Linked DNA regions of Homo sapiens: regions 2, 3, 4, 5, 6 and 7 are each linked to region 1. Evidence: promoter capture Hi-C in 16 types of primary human blood cells and fetal thymus (Javierre and others, 2016). All regions are on one chromosome and are shown on one strand. The core of a region is centred on a gene start or on the middle of the fragment in contact, and the rest is flanking DNA. Distances in the headings are between cores, read along the strand shown. Region 1 holds the start of KRT71 (keratin 71). Region 2 has its middle 5.5 kb from the start of KRT18. Region 3 has its middle 11 kb from the start of MIR9898. Region 4 has its middle 12 kb from the start of KRT18. Region 5 has its middle 22 kb from the start of EIF4B. Region 6 has its middle 4.4 kb from the start of KRT8. Region 7 has its middle 21 kb from the start of KRT8.

Region 1 (3,280 bases), core at 423-2,922:
CATGGGAGCTGTCACAGAGTTGCAGCCCCACCAGCACATGCTAAGGATGTGTTCAGAGCGGAGGGAGGTAAGGAGAGCTCAGACCTGGCCTGTGTGGGTGCAGGAAGACCTCCTGGAGGAGAGCAGGATGGGGAAGTGACAGAACAAGAGATGGCGAAAGGCTGAGAGGGAAGGATGGAGGGAAGATGGATGGGAGGGATGAGGAGGGATGGAGAGAGAAGGTGAGAAAGAGAGAAGGCAGGGATAGGAAAATTCGGGTAGTTTCAGTAAGAGCAAAGAAGACAAAATGGCAGGGGCAAGAGTAGAGGAAGGAATGCAGAGGATTGGGAGGGACTGGAGTCCAGGCTCTTCCCCTAAACAATATGAGAGAGAGCCCCAAACCAGCCTGTCTCCAGATTTTCTTCCCTCCTGTGCCCCACCCAGCAAAGAGCTGCTGTTCACCCATGGGGCTCCAGCAGGGATCTCTGGGCAAGGGTGATCTTCAGGGACAGAGCTGCCTTGGGTTGAATAGGGCCACAGTGGCAATGGCGATCATGGGAGTAGCTGGGGCCCAACACAGGAGCCAGTGGCTAGGAAGCAGGGGCTGCAGCCAGAGTCTCTGGGGCTGGCATCAAAGGACTGTTTGGAGTAGAATGACATCGTGCTTACTGGGTCGCCCCCATTGGGTCTTTCTGGTCTGAGCCTGCCTGGAGGCTTGCACTCCTGGGGAGGGCTCAGCCAGCCTTGTTCTTGGCTCACTTGGGCCTGGACAGAGGCAATAGGAGTTAAGTTTCATGTTGATAACAGCTTCTTTATTTGAACTCTAAACAGATGATTACTGTCCTCAAGTTGTTCCTAGTCTTATTAGCAGATACACATTGGAGGAGAGACAGAAATGAGGAAGTGGACCACCCAGGAATCTCCATAACCCTCCAGGCCATGGGCCAGCCTCTGTCTTTGTCTTCTCTGTACCTCCTTCCAGTCAAGTCCCTGAATTTCTCAGCCACCTGCCCCAACTCCATCCTCCTTTTCTCGTCCTCATTTTCTCCAGTGTTTGAAGCCTCCAGCCTGCTTTATTATGGGTGTTTGAGGGGGGAGAAGTGAGGATAGTGCCCGTGGTTGGCTCTGGCCTGGGCTGCTTCTGTCCCATGCTAGCGAGAGGGTCACTCCACCTCCTAATACCCCATGAGTGAGAGCAGCTGCCCTCTATGGGTTATGTTTCCAGGAGGCCTGGGGAGAGGTAATGCCTGATCAGTCCCTTTCCAGGAAGGAGGAGAACAGAAGTTGGAGGCCCCAGTACTCTACCCAGTGTCCTGAACTATCCAGGAAAGTCCATCCTGTCTTCACCTGCTGCATCCCCAGGAGGAAGCCAACAACCCAGAGAAGATTAATCAGGATAGGGATGGTGCAGTGCCAGTGACATCCCCCTGGAGAGGCCAGGGCCTGGGGCAAATTACCCTATAACAGCAGGTTAATTAGATAAGACCCAAATTACATGAGCAAAGCTTGCAAGCCCAGCAATTTGAAGGTTTCATGTTGTTTCAGAGGTGGAGAGGGCTTGATCTCTAGCTCAGCATAGAGAAAATGACTTCTTGCTCCCAGGCAAGCCAAACCCACGAATTAAGCTCTTGACTGCCCATCCACAAGCCCCAGTGCCAAGCACATATAAAGGCACCTGCCAGTCCTCACTACAACCAGCAGAACCTTTTGGGATTTTGCCTTCCTCCCTCCTGCATCTGAGCTTTGTCTCCACCAGCAACATGAGCCGCCAATTCACCTGCAAGTCGGGAGCTGCCGCCAAGGGGGGCTTCAGTGGCTGCTCAGCTGTGCTCTCAGGGGGCAGCTCATCCTCCTTCCGGGCAGGGAGCAAAGGGCTCAGTGGGGGCTTTGGCAGCCGGAGCCTCTACAGCCTGGGGGGTGTCCGGAGCCTCAATGTGGCCAGTGGCAGCGGGAAGAGTGGAGGCTATGGATTTGGCCGGGGCCGGGCCAGTGGCTTTGCTGGAAGCATGTTTGGCAGTGTGGCCCTGGGGCCTGTGTGCCCAACTGTATGCCCACCTGGAGGCATCCACCAGGTTACCGTCAATGAGAGCCTCCTGGCCCCCCTCAACGTGGAGCTGGACCCCGAGATCCAGAAAGTGCGTGCCCAGGAGCGAGAGCAGATCAAGGCTCTGAACAACAAGTTCGCCTCCTTCATCGACAAGGTGGGTCTTCTAGGGCCTGGGGAACTTGTGAACAGCCCTCCTCTTCTCTTCTTGGAACATACGATTTTGTTACAGCAGGAGAGATTGAGGTTAGATGTGAGGAAGACTTTACTGTGGACAAGGTAGGTACATCCCATCAACAGGGTGACCTGTGTAAGGTTCTCTGTGTTGTCTTTCCAGAGAGAAAACAGAGGCAGGTCAATTTCTACTGGCAGAGGCTTCTCAGGGCTCCCAGCAAGAGATGTGGTCCTTCCTCTTGAGGGCTAGCTTGGTGCCATTGCTAGGCCTGCAGGCCGTGTGCAGAAAAGGCCTGTGAGAGCCAGTCTCGCCCAGAGTAAGCAGGGAAGCTGTCCTCCTCCCCTGGCATGCTGCCCTGCCCACTGGTCACTTGCCCAGCGGATCAGGAGCAGCAGGAAGGGGCCGCTTCAGGCCCTCTGATTGGGCATTTGCTCCAGTCAGTTGAAGACTTTCTTGAGAGGCAGAAGAGGGCACTGGGGAAGGGGACTCCACGGTGCTCTTGTGCTCACTGCTGGCCACAGCTGAGTGGCTCTGGGAAGGTGATCTGCCTGTCTGTGTTGCCATCTCCTCATCTCTAAAATGGAGATAATAACTTCTGTCTTGGGGTTGTTGTCAGGCTTATAAAAGAAAATGCAGGTGAAGATCTTGTCACAAGCCTGACGCACACTAAATACTCCAAAAATGATTGTGATTGTGACTCTCATTTCTTATCTCTGGAATGTGGGGGAGGGAAGCTCAGGGGAGGAATCAAAGGTGTCTAGAGACCTGAAGAGATGACACAGTCCAGATAGGCCCCTGACTTCTGGCAGAGAAGAAATGATTATCCCTATCGTATGAGTCACTGAAGGCATGGAGGTAAATGGCATTCCCAGGGTCATTTGGGGAAAGGGAAGGGTGAGGCTGGACCCTCAGCCTTTTGCCTCCAGACCCAGAGGAGGAGACTGGAGGGTTCTGTTGGCTCTGTGGCAGTCAGGCACCAAGGACGGGTCAACCCAGGACAAAGTCTATGGGTGAGACGGTCATGTGGCCATCAGAGCTTAGCCAGCTCCTGCAGCTCAGACTTCCTGCCTGGAGGAGTCCCT
Region 2 (3,487 bases), core at 970-3,469, 390 kb before region 1:
TGTTGGAGACAGTGAGAAGGCCCTGTGGTGGGGTGGGCTGGAGGGAGGAAGGGATCGCCTGGGAGGCTCCCCTGGGCTCCTTTCAGCTACTCTCAGTGGAGGGTATACCCATGCAGGGGGCCCTCCCACAGGAGAAATCCCAGGGCTGCTGAGTTAAGGGTAGAGCTGTTGAGACAGAGGGAGATCTGGGGTAGAACCCAAAGGAAAAGGAATCTGGGGTGGAATGGGAATCCTCCTGCCCAGCCCTGCATCTGGCACATAGGTGGAGCTCCGTAAATACTTTAGGTTTAAGTAATTAATAAACATGGGGTGCTAGGAGAGGTCAGTGGGGGTCATCAGAAAGTGCAGTCAGGTAGACTGCAGAGAGACAAGAGGTGGGGGCAAGGGTACAAGCTTCAGAGGCAGCTGCGGAGCAGGGGGAGGATGCGGGTGGCAGCTGGGTGCAGGACCCAGTCTGATATCAAGACTTCTGGAATTTCAGCACCCTATTTGGAGTCCCTGGCACTGCCTGTGGAGGTGGGAACGGGTTCTCAGGGCTTGGGCCAGGCCCTCTTCCCCAGGGGTGGGAGAGTCGAGGAATGCCCTGACACTTAGTATCATTGCTTCGGTTGGGTTTGTGCCCTAGGGGTTATTTTCCAAGGATAAAGGAAGAGGAAGGGTCAGCGCTGAGAAGCGTGTGGCTGCCCAGAAACCTCCAGGCGCTGAAGCTCAGAGAAGTCGGGGAACCTGGCCCTTCTAGGAGCCCCTCAGCTCCCTGGCCCAGCCCCACCAGGAATGGCCTTGCCTGTGCTTATGTCCTTTGCCCATTCTGACCCTGGTGCTGTTGGCTTCTCCTCAGGTGCAACCCCAGTATCCCAATGCCATATCCCCCAGCCTATCGCCTCACTCAAATCTGCCCAGAGATTAGGGGAGGGCAAAGGGATGAATAGGGCACTTGGTGTCAAAAGACCTGGATTCGGCCAGGTGGCTCATGCCTGTAATCCCAGCACTTTGAGAGGTTGAGGTGGGAGAATCGCTTATGGCCAGGAATTTGAGACCAGCCTGGGCAGTATAACAAGACCCTGTCTCTATGAAATAATAAAATATTTCAATATTTCACAATATTCCCCACTGCTGGCTTAGTGATCTTGAGCAGCCTTTACTAGCTTGGTCTCTCCTCAGCTGTAGAATGAGAAAAATAGTAATATCCACTTAGAGAGTTTTCATGAGGACCAAATGAGATGACGTGCCTGGAAGAGCTTTGGCAGCTGAGAAGCCAGCTGACCTCCCCTCCTGTCTGCTTTGCCCCATTTGCTCCTTTTCTTCCCAGCCCCCTTGTTCTTTTGCACTTACTACTCTCCAGCCTTCTGCTCCCTGCTCACCACTATTTTTTTCCATCTAACATGGGCTCAGGGCAGGGTGGCTAAGACTGAGTCTTTGAAAAGGGGGGTGAAATGGAAGAACAGAGTGGCCAAGAACCTATCTCCAGATCATCCAGTCAGCCGGCTCTGTCTCTGTCAGCCTCTTTCCTGGCCTAGGCTGGGCAGGTTCTGCCAGCAGTGTTTAGGGAACTATCCTGTGAGCAGCTAGGAGAGCAGGGCTGGAGCTTGGGAGAGGCATGGGGCAGGAGGTATGGATGCCAGGGTCACAGCTAACCTGCGGGGCCTTTACACAAATTGCAGAGAGGGAGCCTCTTCCTTGTTTCCTGGCAGGGTGTGCCTGTACACTGAACACCCTGCACGGCCACGTGCAACGGGCCCACCTGGAGCATCCCCCTCAAGGATTTGGGTGAAACCCAGTTGTGGGTGAGGTGGCCTAAGGGAAAGGATCAGGGAAAAGAAGGAGCAGAGTCAGCACAGAGGGACTTGAGGCAAGAAGAAGAGGAAGAGACAGAGGGAGAAGAGGAGAAAGAGGAGAAGGCCTAGATCTCTAAGTTCCCAGGAAGAGACCAGGAGAGAGGACGTCATGAAAGCCAAGAAGAATGAGGTTCAAGGAAGGGGGGCCCACAGGGCCAGGTGCACAAAAGGATCAGGGAGGCTGAGGACAAAAAGAGCACTTTCAGTAGAGCGATGGAGCCTGGAGCCGGGGTGTGGACTGAGAGGGAGGAGAGAGAGGACCAAGTGGAGGCAAAATGTAGACTTTTCTTTCAAGCAGTTTATCAGCGACGGACAGGAGAAATCGGGAGGCCAAGCGGTTGTTAGGTCGCAGAACTGATGGACGGTTGCCTTAGGATGAGACAGTTTAGTAAAGCTGATCAGTAATTAAACAAGCAATAGCACTAAAGTGTGGTTGGTGCTATGCCTGGGTGAGTCCAGGGAACAATGGAAGCCCAAATCAGTAAACACTAATCCTGCTTGAGATTCTGGGGGAGTGGAGTGACATTTAAGCTGCAACCTGAAAAGTGATATCCTAGTAGGTGGCAGAGCTGGGATGTGTTGTGTGTAACCTCTCTAGGCTCCTTCCTCCCCAATCAGAAGCGTGTGGCAGAGGCAGGAGGACACCGTGGCACATTAGGTGAACTCTGTGTTCTAACCATGAGGCATAAGAAGGTGAGTCAGTGGTCTTGAGATCCCAACAGCAGTTACACAACATGGCTTCATGATGAGACCAGCCACACAAGAAACACTGCGTATCCTGGGGGTGGGAGAGAAAAAATGGTGGGCTTCACTGAGGGATGAGAAGGCAGGAGAGGTGGAAGCTCAGGGACAAAGAAGCCTTAAAACATGGCTGAAAGGGCTGGGCCTTGGGTGGGGAAGCAAAGGCAAACAGAAGAGTTTAGTGGAAAAGGAGGAAGCCCGGGACTGAGGTGGCACGGCAGTTGGAAGCTGCAGAGAAAGCACAGGAGCGTGAGATGGGGAAGGTGAGAGAGAGTATCAGAATCTGGGGTCAGAGCAGCTGGTGATGTCACTTCAGGGTGCTGAAGGCACTGAAAATCATGGGGTTAAGAATCTTTGGGAAAAGAGAGGATGGAGAAACAAGATTTTGGAGTTGGACAGATCTCAGTTTGAATCCCAGCTCTGCTTGTTTCCTTGCTAGGTGACCTTGGTCAAGTTGGGTGCCTAAGTTGGGTGCCCAAGTCGGCGAGCTTCTCTGATCTCCAGCTTCCTTATCGGTTTGTTGCAGAGATTAAGCATGTATGATAGGGCCTGGGGCGGAGCAGGTGCTTGTTAAGTGTGCCTCCTCCTCCTGGAAGAATCATCAACATGGAGCTTTAAGGCTGTCGGTTTAGTTCACTTCCACCAATAGTGACCTGGGAATACAAAGATAAATACAACTAGACAATAATAATCAAGGAGATTATTATTAGAGGGAACAGATCATTGGACAAACAAAATACAGTGTGATTGGTGCTATGACAAGCTCCAGAGGACTGTCAGAGAAAGGAAGAATTCATTAATTCATTAACGCTTTGTAAGGCACCTAATGCCAGCATGGTCTAGGATCTGAGAATACAGCACAGAAAAGCCACAAGGTTGCTGCTTTCATGGAGCTTGCGTTCTACGTGCTG
Region 3 (3,116 bases), core at 174-2,673, 340 kb before region 1:
CAACCAGCTAATTTTTGTATTTTTAGTAGAGACAGGGTTTCACCATGTTGGCCAGGGTGCTCTCGATCTCCTGACCTCATGATCCGCCTGCCTCAGCCTCCTAAAGTGCTGGGATTACAGGTGTGAGCCACGATGCCTGGCCAGCCATCTATTTCTTTTTCTGCAATTTTAACCCTTTTAAACTCTTTCCTTTTGGGGAGATATATTAATTTGCTCAGACCTAGTCCAGAAACAGCTGGTGGATTGATCTTTGAAAGTATTTCCCCATGAAGTGGCCTTGAAGAGATTCTGGACCACACCCAGCCCATGACAGCAACTGACACTCTTTAGGTGCCTGAGGAAGGGGTGAGCAGAACAGAGTTAGGGCAGAACTTGGCTTGCAACATGTCTAGAGTGTGTGCCTGGTGCCTGGGAGCTGGGGAGGATGGTGGCAGAGGAGAATACAAAGACACATAACACAGGATCCTTGTCCTCAAACTCTTTCTAGCTGATCTGGAAAAACAATACATATTCCAGAAAAGTCAATTTCATTTGTTCAGTCATTCAGCAAACATTGGGCATCTAGGGTGAACCAGTCCCTGTCTCAGGCACAGGATGGAGGAGGGACTAGGTGTTTGGAACATGGCAAGGTGAGGAAGAGTGTGCATGGTGGACTCTGGGGATTTAGTGAGGCATTGAACCCTGGTGGTCCCCTAATACCTGTTCTCCCCTTTTCCTCAGTAATTAGAACCCTATTTTTTATTTGGGCTACGGCTTTCTGGAATAAAGACATTTTCCTGCATTGTTTATGATTAAGCTGTGGCCATGTTTCAAAGGGATAGAAGTAGAAGTGGAGGGTACAGGGTCTAAGAAGTGTCCTTAGGCCAGGCGCAGTGGCTCATGCCTATAATCCCAGCACTTTGGGAGGCTGAGGTGGGCAGGTCACCTGAGGTCGGGAGTTCGAGACCAGTCTGACCAACATGGAGAAACCCCGTTTCTACTAAAAATACAAAATTAGCTGGGCGTGGTTGGTGGCGCATGCTTGTAATCCCAGCTACTCGGGAGGCTGAGGCAGGAGAATCACTTGAACCTGGGAGGCGGAAGTTGCGGTGAGCCGAGATTGTGCCATTGCACTTCAGCCTGGCAACAAGAGCGAAACTCCGTCACAAAAAAAAAAAAGTGTCCTTAAAGGGAGAGGAAGTGTGAACTGCTTCTTTCGCCCCTCCTTTCTGCCAGCAGGAATGCACGCATAATGGCCGAAGTTTAGCAGCCATGTTGGACCATGAGTGACCTGGTGAATGGAAGTCATCCTTGGCCGAGCAAGAAAGAGGTGGGATCTGGGTCCCCTCCATAAAGTAGTGCCATACTGGCCTTGGACAGACTATCTCTATAGGTCTGGGAATTGAGAGATAAATATCTGTCTGGATTGAGCCACTGCTTTTTTTTTTTTTTTCTTTGTTACTCCCAGCTGAAGCAAATCCTAAGACTGAGCACATCAGCTTGTCTCAGAGGTGTGGTTGCCAGAGGTGGCTGGGTGATGAGCAGAGAAAACACTGGCGGGGAAGCAAACTGGCTTCCACATTCTTGGCTTGCTCTGGGACACTTGGGAAATCCCTGCCTTCTCTGGGCCTTGGTCCCCTTTTCTTGAACAAAGAAGAGGGGCTGGACTTGGTGCTTTTCACAATACCTTTGAGCCAACCCACTTTATTCTCTGGACATTTTGGTGGGTCACAGAGGCCTGGGATGCAGGGCTGAGATATTTGTAGTTGATCTCAGCAGCAGTGGGTGACGTTGGAGATTGTTTTTCTTTCTTTTCTTTTCCCTTCCCTTCCCTTCTCTTTTTTTTATTTTTATTTTTACTTTATTTTATTTTATTATTTTTTTGAGATGGAGTCTCTCTCTGACACCCAGGCTGGAGTGTGGTGGCACAATCTCGGCTCACTGCAAGCTCCGCCTCCCGGGTTCATGCCATTCTCCTGCCTCGGCCTCCCGAGTAGCTGGGACCACAGGCACTCACCACTACGCCTAGCTAATTTTTTATATTTTTAGTAGAGATGGGGTTTTACCGCATTAGCTAGGATGGTCTCGATCTCCTGACCTCATGAGCCGCCCGCTTCGGCCTCCCAAAGTGCTGGGATTATAGGCGTGAGCCACCGAGCCCGGCCCTTTTCTTTTCTTGTTTCTTTTTCTTTTTCTTTTCTTTTCTCTTTTATTTTCTTTTGAGATGGAGTCTCATTCTGTTGCCCAGGCTAGAGTGCAGTGGCACGATCTGAGCTCACTGCAACCTCTGCCTCCCAGGTTCAAGCAATTCTTGTGCCTCAGCCTCACCAGTATCTAGGATTACATGTGCGCGCCACAACACCTGGCTAATTTTTGTATTTTTAGTAGAGATGGGGTTTCACCATGTTGGCCAGGCTGGTCTTGAACTCCTGACCTCAGGTACTCCACCCACCTCAGCCTCCCAAGGTGCTGGGATTATAGGTGTGAGCCACCTTGCCTGGACTGTTTTTCTTTTTTTGTTTTTCTTGAGGCATGGGGAATAAGGAAGGGAGTTGATGGAAGCAGTTTCAGGAAGATGGGCCCTGGCATCCTCTGCAAGGGACACATGATTAAAGTCAGCACAGTGGGATAAGCCCTGGGTGAGGGGGCAGAAGACCTAGGTGGGCACCCTGGCTCTGCCAGTCACACAGGATCTATGACCCTGAGGATGTTGCCTCCCTGCTCTGAACTTCAGTTTGCTGCCAGTGAAATGGGGACAATCAGATTGCAGTGTGTTCATGAGGATTAAAGGCAGTAATGTTTATTAAGGTGATGCACGTAAAGATGTTTTGCAAACTATAAATAAAGATGCATGCTCTTTCCCTTAGGATCCCCTTCGAGATGAACTATCTCTCTGACCCCTTCTGTGTCCCTCACCCACCCCAGGGCAGCACATTCACTTTCCATAACCTCTATTCAGGTTTTCTTTTTCTTTTTTTCATTTTGAAAGCAGGAACTGTTTATTAATTGACCAGATTAGAAAAATAATCAAGGTAGCCGGGCACAGTGGCTCATGCCTGTAATTCCAGCACTTTGGGAGGCCGAGGTGGGCGGATTACAAGGTCAGGAGTTTGAGACCAGCCTCGTCTCTACTAAAA
Region 4 (3,234 bases), core at 661-3,160, 410 kb before region 1:
GAGCCACCACGCTCGGCCTTTTTTTTTTTTTTTTTTTTTTTTTTAATTCTTTAAGCTCACCAGTGCAGTTAAGCAGGCAGACCACACCAGGGCCTTTGATTTCCTTTCCCCACCATAACGATTTAATCTCAACAGTGTGTAGCCTGCCAAAGCCTTACCTTCAATAGGCCAGTCATTCCTGGTGATCCCAGGTAGTAAATTAATTTATTCATTTTGTCATTACATGTGATAACTGAGACTTCAGATATCCACTCTCAGATCCCTTCCTTGAAGGTATCATCCTGAATTCTAGTTGCAGGAAATAAACTACTCTAGCTGGTGGGGATCCTGAAGCTGACTGAACCCATGAACACAAATTGCAGCTGTGATCCATGGATCAGGAAACCACTACTGCTCCTTGTGGTTCAACTGTCTCACAATACTCAATACCTACAAAGCAAATGACTGGACACTGGACACTGCTCCAGAAAAATCCCACAGCCTCATGACCAGACGTGCTAGCAGGAACAATCAAAGCAGCAGAGGAGGGTCTTCACCTCACTTCCACTTTCCGAATCGTATTCATCTGCATCTAATTAGTGCGACATAATTCACTTCCTAGCTGCAAGGACATCTGGGAAATGCACTTTTTAGCTCTTTGGTTTCTGAAGCAGAAAGGTACCAATTTGGAATGGAGCTGAATGCCAATCCATTCCAACTACTGCCTTTGGATTTTGCAGCCAGACTGCCTGGGTTTGAATTCTGGCTTTGCCATTTATTTAGCTGTGAGACCTTAAGGAAGGTAGTTTACCTTTCTGAGCCTCAGTTTCTTCACCTGTAAAATGAGGATTGTAATACTATCCGTCTCATAGGGTTGTTGTTAGGATTAAGTGAATTAATATATGTAATGTGCTTAGCACAGTGCCTGACACATAGAAAGTGCTCAGTAAATACTGGTTACTGGCCAGGCGCGGTGGCTCATGCCTGTAATCCCAGCACTTTGGGAGGCCAAGGTGGGTGGATCACCTGAGGTCAGGAGTTTGAGACTAGCTTGGCCAACATGGTGAAACCCCATCTCTACTAAAAATACAAAAATTAGCCAGGCATGGTGGTGCACGCCTGTAATCCCAGCTACTTGGGAGGCTGAAGCAGGAGAATCACTTGAACCTGGGAGGCAGAGGTTGCAGTGAGCTGAGTTCGTGCCATTGCACTCTAGCCTGGGTGACAAGAGTGAAACTCTGTCCCCCCCAAAAAAAACCAAATACTGGTTATTATGGTAATTGCCATTGTTATATGACCAATCCAGGATGACACCAGGATGAAGAAAACAGGGTAGGCTGGGTGCGGTGGCTCACGCCTGGAATCCCAGGACTTTCAGAGGCTGAGGTGGGCAGATCACCTGAGGTCAGTAGTTTGAGACCAGCCTGGCCAACATGGTGAACCCCCCATCTCTACTAAACATACAAAAATGGTTGGGTGTGGTGGCGCATGCCTGTAGTCCCAGCTACTTGGGAGGCTGAGGCAGGGGAATCACTTGAACCCAGCAGGTGGAGGTTGCAGTGAGCTGAGATCACGCCATTGCACTCCAGCCTTGGCAACAAGAGTGAAACTGTCTCAAAACAAAACAAAACAAACAAACAAAAAACAATAACACAAACCAAAGAAACAAAAAAATAGGGTACCTGTCTTCAAGGCATTTCCAGTCTCATGGGGAAGATGACATAAATAGCTAAGTATGCCACATGATGAAATGAAACAAAGGCAGTTGGAAAATATAGCACGGTTCTGAAGCTCAAGAGAGGCTAGGGCTGGAGGTAAATATTGAGATACCAGCTCAGAGGTAGCAACAGAGTCAGGGAATAAAAATAAGATTGTCCATGGCCAGGCACGGTGGCTCACACTTGTAGTCCCAGCACTTTGGGAGGCTGAGGTGGGTGGATCACTTGAGGTCAAGAGTCCAAGACCAGCCTGGCCAACATGGTGAATCCCCATCTCTACTAAAAATACAGAAAATTAGCTGCCTGGTGGTGGGTACCTGTAATGCCAGCTGCTTGGGAGGCTGAGGTAGAAGAATCGCTTGAACCCCAAAGGTGGAGGTTGCAGTGAGCCAAGATTGTGCCACTGCACTCCAGCCTGGGCGACAGAGTTAGACTCCATCTCCAAAAAAAAAAAAAAAAGGCCCAAGAAGAGAAAAAGCTGAGGACAGCCTGCAAGGCCTGTGTTTAAAGGGCAGATGGATGAAGTGCAGCAGGCAGAGGTGAGAGGACTGCGGAGCGCAGTGGTGTGCAGGTCAAGAGCAGAAGGACATCAGGGTCAAGTGCTGCAGAGGCTGAAAAAGATGAGGAGAGAGGGGAGGCTGCTGGACTTAGACTGGTGGCCTGTGAGGGCCTTCAGTGGCAGGGTGCAGGGGGGATGAGGAGGAGCTTTGGGGCAAGGTACGTTGGCAGTCGACCCTTTCCCAATGCCCTGTGGGCCCCAAGGAGACCTAAGGGTACATACAAGGGCAAACCTGAATGTGCAGGTCGGGGGCTGAGAGATGCTGCTCATACACCCAGGACCCATCCTCGCTGCTGATCCCCAAGATATGCCAGGCTAGGTCCCTCATCTCCTTCAGTCTTGGCCCAATGTCACTTCCTGCCCAGGCTGCCCTACTTAAAACTGCAATCTGCTGGCCAGGCGTGGTGGCTCACGCCTATAATCCCAGCACTTTGGGAGGCTGAGGCAGGTGGATCACCTGAGGTTGGGATTTTGACACCAGCCTGATCAACATGGAGAAACCCCCATCTCTACTAAAAATACAAAATTAGCCTGGCATGGTGGCGCATGCCTGTAATCCCAGCTACTCGGGAGGCTGAGACATGAGAATCTCTTGAACCCGGGAGGCGGAGGTTGCAGTGAGCTGAGATTGAGCCATCGCACTCCAGCCTGGGCAACAAGAATGAAACTCCATCTCAAAAGAAAAACAAAAACAAAAAATCCTGCAATCTGCTGCCCCCTTCCTATGGTAGGCTGAATAATGGTCCCCTCCCATCCCAAGATGTCCATATCCTAACCGCCCCTCTTTGCCTGTGAGTTTCCTTACACAGCAACAGGGACCTTGCCATGTAAATCAAAGATCTTAAGTTGGGGAGATTATGCTCATTGTCTGGGTAAATCTAATGTCATCAAAGGATCCTTATAAGAAGGAGGCAGAAGGGTCAGAGAAAGGAGATGTGAGGATAATGGAAGCAGAAGTCAGGAGAGAGGGAAGTGGGG
Region 5 (3,140 bases), core at 295-2,794, 430 kb before region 1:
CTTTGGAGAGATACACTGTCTACCACGATTGAATTTTCTGCCTCGGCTGTCCTGTGTCCCAAATGGGTTGGGAGCCCTGTGCTGCTCCCTGAAAGAAGTGTCATTACTTGAGTATGTGGCTTGGCCCCAAACCTTCTAGGTGGTTGTGCAGCCAATTTGATGGGCTTATTACCTGTACTGGGCTTGAAGCTTGTAGAGAAATGGAAGTCAACCCTCTTCCAAAGAAGAGAGGCAGAAGGCCAGTCACGGTGGTTCACACCTGTAATCCCAGCACTTTGGGAGGCCGAGGCGGGTGGATTACCTGAGGTCAGGAGTTCGAGACCAGCCTGGCCAACATGGTGAAACCCTGTCTATACTAAAAATATAAAATTAGCCGGGCATGGTGGTGCATGCCTGTAATCCCAGCTACTTGGGAGGCTGAGGCAGGGAATTGCTTGAACCTGGGAGGCGAGGTTGCAGTAAGCTGAGATCGTACCATTGCACTCCAGCTTGGGCAACAAGAGCGAAACCCCGATACACACACAAAAAAGAAGAGAGGCAGAAGGCCGGGCACAGTGGTTCACACCTGTAGTCCCAGTGCTTTTGGAGGCCAAGGCAGGAGTATGGTTTGAACTCAGGAATTTGAGACCAGCCATAGTGAGATCCCAATCTCTACAGAAACCAACCAACGAACAAAAACAAATTAGCTAGGCATGGTGGCATGTGCCTGTGGTCCCGGTGCTTTGGGAGGCCAAGGGGGAGGATCCCTTGAGCCCAGGAGTTTGAGACCAGCCTGGGAAATATGGTGAGATTCCATGTCTACAAAAAATAAAAAATTAGTTTGGTGTGGTGGTGCACACCTGTAGTCTCAGCTACTCAGGAGGCTGAGGTGGGAGGATCATTTGGCCCTGGGATGTCAAGTGTGCAGTGAGTGGTGACTGTGCCACTGCACTACAGCAAGGGTGACAGAGCGAGACCCTGTCTAAAAAAAGAAAGAAAGGCACTGGGCGCGGTGGCTCACGCCTGTAATCCCAGCACTTTGGGAGACTGAGGCGGGTGGATCACGAGGTCAGGAGATTGAGACCACCCTGGCTAACACGGTAAAACCCCCGTCTCTACTAAAAATACAAAAAATAGCTGGGTGTGGTGGCACGTGCCTACAGTCCCAGCTACTTGGGAGGCTGAGGCAGGAGAATCACTTGAACCCAGGAGGTGGAGGTTGCAGTGAGCTGAGGTCGCGCCACTGCACTCCACCCTGGGTGACAGAGCAAGACTCTGTCTCAAAAAAAAAAAAAAAAAAAAAAGAAGAAAGGCAGTGAACAAGCAACACTTTTCAAGGAACTGAACAAGGACGCATGTGCTCAAGTTAAAGTATCTGTAAAGTATCTGAACATGGACACGTGTGCTCCAAGGAAAGTACAAAGTTAACCCTATACTAAATATCTGTCCTCACCCCTCCTTGAATCTGTATGACATCTTTACTCTCCAATCATCTTTCTACTTGGCTTGTTTAAATCTCAATATAGCCTAGTGAGAAAGAAAGGCAAGTGAGGAAATCAAGAGATTTGCTCAACATCACACAGCAGCTTAATCATGGTGCAGATCCCAGGCCTCCTGCTGTAGCACCCAGTGGCCCAGTGCTGACTACTGCCCCTAGCAGGTTCCATGGGCAACTCCTGCCCTCTGAGGACTCTCAGTCCAGGATGCATACCCAGGATGTATGTGTGAAGCAGGATGATGTTAGGGTGGCAATGCAGTGTCAAGGACAAGATCTGATATCATCTCTGTTAGCTCCATCAGGCCCGTGATCTCAGGACAGCCACTCAACCTCTCTAAGCCTCAGTTTCCTCATTTGTAAAATTAGGTTAAAATGATATCCACCTATACGTTGAAAAACTGTAAATAATGGTTGCCTCTGGAGTGGGTTGTGGGGCTGGGTGCTGGGTAGGAGGAAGACTTTCTTTTCATTGTATATCTTTATACTGCTCAATTTTATAATCATAGGGCAGATATTATTAATTCACTGATAATACTAATTAAAATACAAAAACTGCTGGTGCGATGGCTCATGCCTGTATTCCCAGCACTTTGGGGGGCCAAGGCGGGCAGAATACCTGAGGTTGGGAGTTCAAGACCAGCCTGCTCAACATGGTGAAACCCCGTCTCTACTAAAAATACAAAATTAGCCAGGCGTGGTGGCACATGCCTGTAATCCCAGCTACTCCAGAGGCTGAGGCAGGAGAATCTCCTGAACCCTGGAGGTGGAGGTTGTGGTGACCCAAGATTGTGCCATTGCACTCCAGCCGGGGCAACAAGAGTGAAACTCTGTCTCAAAAAAAAAAAAACCAAAAAAACAAAAACAAACAAACAAACAAAAAAAACTAGCCAGGCATGGTGGCATGTACCTGTAATCCCAGCTACTCAGGAGGCTGAGGCAGGAGAATCACTTGAACTGGGGAGGCAGAGGTTACAGTGAGCCAAGATTTTGCCACTGCACTCCAGCCTGGGTGACAGAGGGAGACTCTGCCTCAAAAAATAAAATAAAATAAAATAGATAAAATATAAAATAAAATAAAATTCGTTACGGACTAAACATCCGTTCTTGCCTGACTCAGGGTGGAATCCTCCTACCCTCCTACCTTTGTTATGCTACTGCCTTCCTTACAAACCCCTGTTAAAGATCAAGTGGAATAATATTTTTAAGGGTCTCAAATTCAAATACTGTCAGGGTTCAGATAGGCAAGTGTGCGAAGTGGTGTAGGTCACTGGGAGTGGTGCAGACTATGGAAGATTGAGGAGTGCATGCCCTGGCTAGAGGTGTTCACATGCAATTTTTATCCAGGGAGTGAACTGACAGTTTGTGATACTCAACAACAAATAAATAATTCAAACTTGGATCTGGTCTGACTTCAAAGCTTTTTCTACTATGTCATTTGGTCTTGTCCGAAACCCTAGTTCCCTTTTTCTTTTTTTTGAGACAGAGTCTCACTCTGTTGCCCAGGCCGGAGTGCAGTGGTGCGATCTCAACTCACTGCAACCTCCGCCTCCTGGGTTCAAGCGATTCTCCTGCCTCGTCTCCTGAGTAGCTGGGACTATAGGCGTGCGCCACTATGCCTGGCAAATTTTTGTATTTTTAGTAGAGATGGGGTTTCACTGTGTTG
Region 6 (3,294 bases), core at 523-3,022, 360 kb before region 1:
CGTCTGGCCTGATGGTCACTTCTCAACAGGGACTTTCAGGAAATACCTTGCCTTGGTCAAAGGAGACTCCTACCTCCTTTGGTTTGAGAGGACCCAAATACTTCATCTCCTGAAATTTTTTAGACTACTGCCTGATAAGCAAATATGTGGATAAATGAAAAGGTGAATACAGGAAGGAATAAAGGCCTCTAGTCCCTGTCCCCAACTCCCACCTTAGTCCTCAGGTTGCCCAGCAGGAAAATCAAAACAGTGGGCCTCTGGATATCAGCTCCAGTGCTAAGCAGCTCAGGCCAGGGGAATCCTCAGGGCTGGGGTGGGGGTGGGCAGGATGCCTATAGCGGAGCCCCAGGTCCTTCCTGTTTGTTCTTTTCCTGCACTCCTGTCCGGTTGCCTGAACACCATGAGGGCTTCCCCTATCGCAATGTCAGCTTCTGAAGTTTCCTTGAAATCCTCTCAATAACTTCCACTTCCTGTCACTCAAGTCCCCAGTACCGCTGTCTTCACTGTCAGGAGTGGGACCCATTTGTGTCTGTCCTCTCGCAGTCTCTGTCTCTGTCTCTGTGGCCCTGGCCAACGGTGGTGGAGTTTCAGGTTCTGGGGACTGAACCACTCTGTTTTCCTTCCTGAGGGACAGAGTATATCACCCTTTCTAAGCAGGAACCTGCAGTGCTGTGGATTTGAGCTCTGGCCTATTTCCTCTGGGAAGAGGAAGAAAGTGTGTTCCTAAAGGTCTTGGTGTTGGGACCAGAGCTAAAGCCTGGTGCCTGACTCTGGCTGTACCGAGGAAGCTTTGAAAATGCAGACGGGGTGCGACCTGAGCACGTATACTGTTATAATCTCCCACGGGCGATCTTGATGTGATGGAGAACCAGAGTTAAGGGGAAGGACTCTGTGGACTGAGCCATAGCTGGGACCTTCCGCCTAGGCTTCATGCTCACCCAGTGGGATGACCTTCTTGGTTTGGCATCAGTGGAGAGGAGGGTGAGAGAATGTTGAAAATGTGAGAAAGGCTGTGTGCAGTGGCTCACGCTGTAACCCTAGTACTTTGGGAGGCTGAGGCAGAAGGATTGCTTGCATCCAGGAGTTCGAGTCAGGCTGGGCAACATAGTGAGATCCTGTCTCTAAAAAAAAGAAAAAAAAGTGTGGGAGACCTCAACATCTTCAGGCTGCTGGGCTTGTGTCTCCTTCCTCCACAACAAGGCTGTGCTGTCCTCCCTCACTCTTGTTCTAATAATTTCTAATCATATCTCTTATCACAAGCAAAATTTCAAACCAGAGAACATTCACAGATTTTCATCTTCAGTGCGTAAAGCTCTATGGTGGTGGATGTGGATCAAAAGCTTTCAGAGTTGGCGGGACTTGGACATTCTAATTCAAACCCTAGCAGATGTGAGAACCCCCTCCCACTGAGCCAGTGGACAGCTGGTGAGCAAGGTCCCTCTCCATGTCTCCAGGTACAGGAGGTTGCTCCCTCTCTAGGCAGTCCATTTCCATCCTGGCTGGCTTTAATCATCAGATCCATCACTGATCAAGAGCAAAAAAGTCAGCATTTGCTAAGCTTTGACAATGAAAAATTTTAGCCTTGAGGCACATAACACAAAATTAGCAATCGAATTGACTCTATTATTCATGATGCTGCTTCCTGAGGGGTGTACCCACCACCTGTGGCTTCCTATTTAAACAAATTGTTCTGCTGTCTCTATGCTAAATGCAGCTATTTCTATACCAATAATAACATTTCAAAATGCTCCATCATTTAAAGGGATTTCGGGTGCTTTTCGGGCATTGCCTTAACCCAGAGGCAGGAAGCCTCTTTACCTGGGGCATCTAAACAAACTCTTTGCTTCTTTCCCCTGACCCCTTATGCTGGGCACAAAGCCCCTGCTTTTTATATGTAGCTCATTTATGCTTTTGTGGTTATCTTTTTGTTACAACTTTGTTGAGCTGTAATTCACATACAATATAATTCAACAATCTGAAGCTTGCAGTTCAGTGATTTTTAGTATGTTCACAGACTTGTGCAGCTTCACCATCATCAAATTTGTTTATTTATTTATTTATTTTTGAGACAGAGTTTCACTCTGTCTCCCACGCAGGCTAGAGTGCAGTGGCACAGTCTTGGCTCAATGCATGCGGCCTCAACTTTCGGGGCTCAGGTGATCCTCACAACTCAGCCTCCAGGGCAGCTGGGACTACAGGCGTGTGCCGCCATACCTGGCTAATTTTTGTATTTTTTGTAGAGACGGGGGTCTCATTATGTTGCTCAGCTGGTCTCAAACTCCTGGGCTAAAGTAATCCTCCTGCCTCGACCTCCCAAAGTGCTGGGATTATAGGTAGAGCCATTGTGCCTGCCCACCACCATCAAATTTAGAACATTCTCATCACCCCAGAAAGAAACCCTGTGCTCTTTAGCATTCATCTCCATTCCTCCCCTCCCTAGGCAACCACTAATCTACTTCCTGTCTCTATGCTTTGCCTGTTGTGCACATGTCATATAAATGGAATCATAGGGTACCTGATCTTCTATGACTGTCTCCTTTCACTGAGCATACGGGTTTCAAGGCTCATCTGCATCCAACATGCATCAGTAGTTCATTCCTTTTAATTGTAACATTAGATCGTATGGATATGCCACATTAAAGAAATCCATTCGTCATTTGGTGGACATTTGTTTTGTTCCCACTCTTTGGCTATTATGAACAAGGTTGCAGCGAATGAGATCATCAGTCCTGATCTCTAAGCAAAACTTGTTCAGATCCCGGGAGGCGGAGCTTGCAGTGAGCCGAGATTGCGCCACTGCACTCCAGTCTGGGTGACAGAGCGAGACTCCGTCTCAAAAAAGAAAAAAAAAAACTTGTTCAGACCATCTCTTCCCATGATCATGAGTGATGATAACAGCTACCTCCCCACCCCACTGGCCCCAAGACTTAATGCCACTGCTCAGGGTCTCAGGGCCTTCTCTGAATTATCCTGCACCATCAGAAGTAGGGGGCCTGGCCCTCACTCTTGGCCCACAGGGAGTGAGTGTCTCCTCCTTCCCTGGTTCACTCTCCAGGAAAGGCGGTTTGAGGCAGAGTTGTCTGGGTAGGGCAGGCACCGCAAACACGTTGTTCCCTTTTGTCCGGCAGGCAGCTGTGTGTAGACCACAATGCCTTACAAGGAGTTGTACCTGTGGGCCTGCTCCAGTCTGGTTCTCTCTTCCCTCACCACTTGGCCCTAGTCCCAGGGGCCTTCTCCTTCTGCCTTTAACCCTGAAGTCCCAGGCAGGGGCCATCAGAGAGGCCAACTCTGGCC
Region 7 (3,655 bases), core at 1,083-3,582, 370 kb before region 1:
AGAACATGTGTGTCTGTAAAGCAGGTGGCTTCCCCCTCAGGACTGCCCATCCCCAGATTTCAGGCTCGGCTCTGCCCACAAGGGGGTGCTCAGTCAGAGAAGGCCTGGCTGGCATGGTGTGGACAGTGGCCCAGTTGGCAGGCAGGCAGCAGGGCCCTCGCGACTCCACCCCTGGCCAGGACCTTTGCTCCCAGCCCTGATGGCTCTGGCCTTGTTGCCATGGCCACCCCTTAGTTTGGGACAAACAGAGCTCTTCCTCCTCCTGTTCAGCCTCCTAACACCCAAGTGTCTCCCTAGGGACAGGCAGGAATTCCAAGTGTCCAGGCTCCCCACCCTTTCCCCAGGGGAGGCCCAAGGGTGGTGAGTCACTGAATCTGGGCCCCTCTTCACCCTCTCACTGTTCTCTGGCTTGTCCTGCTGCTCCCTTGGGCCCACCTATTTCCTGCTGGAGTTGGGGAGGGGTGGAGAGAAGGACTGGAACTCTCCTGGGTCTATCAAACTGAGTGGTGGTGAAGGTGAAGGGGTCTTCCTGTCCTGAATCTCCTCCCTGGGGTGTGTCCAGGCTGTGGACACCCTTCTGAGGCTTAGCTCCCATCTCTGGTATCCATGAAACAATCACAGCTTCTTTCCTCCCTTGGGGGGAATCCTTGGGGTCCAGGGTAAGGGACAGAAGATAGGAAAAAAGCAATGTGGGAGAGAGGAGATAGGGTCAGAGTAGAGAAGAGGACTCATGGGATAGAATTGAATCATTCATTCATTCATTCATTCATTCATTCATTCATTCAGTGAATCAAACAAGTTCCTGTGCTGGGTGTGGAGGGAAGCAGAAACATGTATAAGACACGCCCCTACTTTTGAGGAAGATGCCTTGGCGCTGATGTGCGGGCCCTGGACTTAGGGTACAGGACTCCGGTTTGAGCTCTGACTACTACTTGCTGGGCACATTACTTCTTAGAGCCTTGGATTCCTCATCTGTAAATAAGGATAAGAAGACTGAACTCCCAAGGTCCTTGTGAGGGTCAAATGAGACAAATATGGAAAATGCCTCATTAATAGTGGATGTTCAGTGCATGCTAAATGACTGTGGATCAGGTTTACAATCAGGGAGGGGAGCTCAGACATGCCCACAGCAAGTGTAACCCAGCCCAGGGGTGTAACAAAGCCCTATTCTTGGGGTCTCTATAGGAGTGGCCACTTCCGGCAGAGGTGACTGGGGCAGGCTTTGTGGGGAGGTGCCTGATGCATGATTTTCATTCAGCAAATGTTTGCGGAATGAATGGGGTGAGCTGGAGCCAGGACCTGCAGGAAGGGTAAGGTTTCAACAGGTGCAGGTGACAAGGAGGTGCTTCAGGAGAGGAGGGCACAGTCCTGGGGGTGGGGTGGGGAGGGCAGCTAGTGCCAGGTGGGGAAGGCTAAGCCTCAGCCACCAGATGAGGAATTTGACCTTTATTCTGAAGGCAACGGGAAGCTCTGGGCTAGGGAGTGACAGGATCAAAGCAGTGTTTGTAGAAGATCAGTCTGGCTGGGCACTGGAGAGGATACCTGAGCGAGCAGGAGAGGTGGTGGGGGGCGGGGGGCAGGGACACACCAGGCAGAGGGACAGTGTGTACATGTCTAGAAGTCTCAGGACAGGCAATTATGTCACCCCCTTCCACTCTGCAGAGGGGGCCTCTCGCACCAGCCTGTCTCCAGGGCAGGTCTCACCAGCCTGCTAGGAGGGAGCTTGAAAGGGAGGTGGGGAATTTCTCAGGGACACAGAGAACATGAGAACACTGCCTCCTTTCTCCTCCTTCCTCCCCTACCTGGGGCCCAGCTCAGAGTAATGGGCCCTGAGGGGGAGAGAAACGCAGCCCTGGAACTGGAACCTGGGTCCCTTTGTTGGTAGGCTCCACCTCCTGTCCTCTAAGATAGAGGGCTGGAAGAGACAAAGAAACTATTAGGCCCCATTAAGAACTGTGCATAAACCCTAGAACTCAGGAACAGAGGGATAATTGAGGTGATAGTATTGCCCAGCCCTGGAGCCCAACTTTCCTTGAAGGGGAAATTTCTGGCCTGGGGCTGGCTGGTAGGAATCTAAAGCCTTAGCCTTTGTGGAGATGAATCATCCTAATCTATCTCTTTGACCCCACCTCCGCCAAAGAGATCCCTTTTGCTCCAATCTCATTCCTGAATGTGCCACACTTCAGGTATCAATGGGGCAAGGCCAGGATGACGGAGGGGGATACCTGCAGGGGAAGAGGTGTTGAGCAGGTTTCTGAAAATGGTGACCATTTCAGACCCTAAATGGCGCCATTCATACCTAAGTGCTGAGTGGTCTCACAGTTTTAGGTATGCTTCGGGGCCCACAGTCTCTCCCAGCCTCCAGCCCTGACTCAGCCTGAGCCCCTGGGAGCCAGAGATAGCTATCCCAGCTATTCAGAGGAAGGAGATAAGGTTTATGGCTCTGGACAGGCTCACCCTGGGGAGACTGTGCATACACACCTCCTCCAGCTGCATTCCTCCCGGTCCTGACCTTGTCTTACTCAGTCTTTTCCTGGAATTACTACAGGAAATAGTGAGCTGTCTGAACGCACCATTTTCAGAAAACTGCCTAGCACCTCCTCCCCTGAAGGTATCCCCTCAATCATCCCGGCCTTGCCCCATTGAGGTCTATACAACATCTTTTTCTTGGCTTCTGGGCAGGCCTGATCCCATCTAGGACCAGTGAGAAGGGGGCCCAGCCCTGTTCCTTTTCCACAGACGCATCCTCCCCATTCCTGGTCACTCATTTCTGCTCCAATGACTCCTTGAATTAGTAAGTCCTTCCTTCAGTCTACCCTTTCACTCCCTTTCGGTGCTTAGTTAAGGAGAGGATGCTCCTCTGTGCGTTGGCTGTTGCCGCAGACCACAGAGTACAGCTGAGGGTCCACTTCACTCCAGGAGCCCTTTAGCTGAGGGGAGGAAGGCAAAAGACAGAAGGAACGGTGAATTCTTAGAGAAGAGTGCATGGTCTTTTCCCATCACAGTAGTGTCCTATACAGTAGTGTCCTATACAAGCAATTATCTTTACAAATTACAATTATCTTTACAATTATCTTTACAAACATTATCATCATATAATTTATTTTATTTTTAAATTTTTATTTATTTTTTTGAGACAGGGTCTGGCTCTGTCGCCCAAGCTGGAATGCAGTGGCCTGTCATAGTTCACTGCAGCCTCAATCTAATTTATTTTACATATGAGAGAACAAAAGCTGAGAGCCCAAATCAAGTATGATTTTTTTTTTTTTTTTTGAGACGGAGTCTCCCTCTGTCGCCCAGGCTGGAGTGCAGTGGCGCAATCTCAGCTCACTGCAAGCTCCGCCTCCCGGGTTCATGCCATTCTCCTGCCTCAGCCTCCCTAGTAGCTGGGACTACAGACGCCCGCCACCATGCCCGCCTAATTTTTTTGTATTTTTAGTAGAGACAGGGTTTCACCGTGTTAGCCAGGATGGTCTCGATTTCCTGACCTTGTGATCTGTCTGCCTCAGCCTCCCAAAGTGCCGGGATTACAGGCATGAGCCACTGCGCCTGGCCTAATGTATGATTTTAAGTATAATGCTTTTGGCCGGGTGTGGTGGGTGGCTCACAACTCGGCTCATGCTGAGGCAGGCGGATCACCTGAGGTCAGGAGTTT

Evidence for each region. The method cuts DNA at HindIII sites, captures the fragments that hold promoters and counts their contacts. A CHiCAGO score of 5 or more calls a contact.
Region 2: a contact is called between a fragment that was not itself captured here and the fragment with the promoter of KRT71 in region 1, in 2 of 17 cell types (M1 macrophages and M0 macrophages). The highest score is 5.6, in M1 macrophages.
Region 3: a fragment that was not itself captured here is called in contact with the fragment with the promoter of KRT71 in region 1 in 8 of 17 cell types (naive CD4 T cells, M2 macrophages, naive CD8 T cells and 5 more); the score reaches 8.0 in naive CD4 T cells.
Region 4: a contact is called between a fragment that was not itself captured here and the fragment with the promoter of KRT71 in region 1, in 4 of 17 cell types (naive CD8 T cells, M2 macrophages, M0 macrophages and 1 more). The highest score is 7.2, in naive CD8 T cells.
Region 5: a fragment that was not itself captured here is called in contact with the fragment with the promoter of KRT71 in region 1 in 4 of 17 cell types (M2 macrophages, M0 macrophages, naive CD8 T cells and 1 more); the score reaches 6.5 in M2 macrophages.
Region 6: a fragment that was not itself captured here is called in contact with the fragment with the promoter of KRT71 in region 1 in 5 of 17 cell types (naive CD8 T cells, naive CD4 T cells, total CD8 T cells and 2 more); the score reaches 7.5 in naive CD8 T cells.
Region 7: a fragment that was not itself captured here is called in contact with the fragment with the promoter of KRT71 in region 1 in 2 of 17 cell types (naive CD4 T cells and M0 macrophages); the score reaches 5.5 in naive CD4 T cells.

What each region holds. Positions count from the first base shown.
Region 1 is chr12:52,551,537-52,554,816 of GRCh38, reverse strand. It overlaps KRT71 (keratin 71), which reads left to right and starts at 1,672. Exons shown (of 9, transcript NM_033448.3): 1 at 1,672-2,180. The coding sequence starts at 1,740. The HindIII fragment of the contact is 3,012 bases long and covers 1,487-3,280 here.
Region 2 is chr12:52,941,861-52,945,347 of GRCh38, reverse strand. It overlaps a transcript of KRT8 not described here. Among named protein-coding and RNA genes, the nearest start is that of KRT18, 5.5 kb to the left of the region's middle. RefSeq lists an enhancer at 999-1,593. The HindIII fragment of the contact is 3,648 bases long and covers 396-3,487 here.
Region 3 is chr12:52,886,573-52,889,688 of GRCh38, reverse strand. No RefSeq gene overlaps it. Among named protein-coding and RNA genes, the nearest start is that of MIR9898, 11 kb to the left of the region's middle. The HindIII fragment of the contact is 4,525 bases long and covers 1-3,116 here.
Region 4 is chr12:52,959,888-52,963,121 of GRCh38, reverse strand. No RefSeq gene overlaps it. Among named protein-coding and RNA genes, the nearest start is that of KRT18, 12 kb to the right of the region's middle. The HindIII fragment of the contact is 7,526 bases long and covers 1-3,234 here.
Region 5 is chr12:52,982,804-52,985,943 of GRCh38, reverse strand. No RefSeq gene overlaps it. Among named protein-coding and RNA genes, the nearest start is that of EIF4B, 22 kb to the left of the region's middle. The HindIII fragment of the contact is 2,705 bases long and covers 192-2,896 here.
Region 6 is chr12:52,907,785-52,911,078 of GRCh38, reverse strand. It overlaps a transcript of KRT8 not described here. Among named protein-coding and RNA genes, the nearest start is that of KRT8, 4.4 kb to the right of the region's middle. The HindIII fragment of the contact is 423 bases long and covers 1,561-1,983 here.
Region 7 is chr12:52,924,067-52,927,721 of GRCh38, reverse strand. It overlaps a transcript of KRT8 not described here. Among named protein-coding and RNA genes, the nearest start is that of KRT8, 21 kb to the right of the region's middle. The HindIII fragment of the contact is 7,195 bases long and covers 1-3,655 here.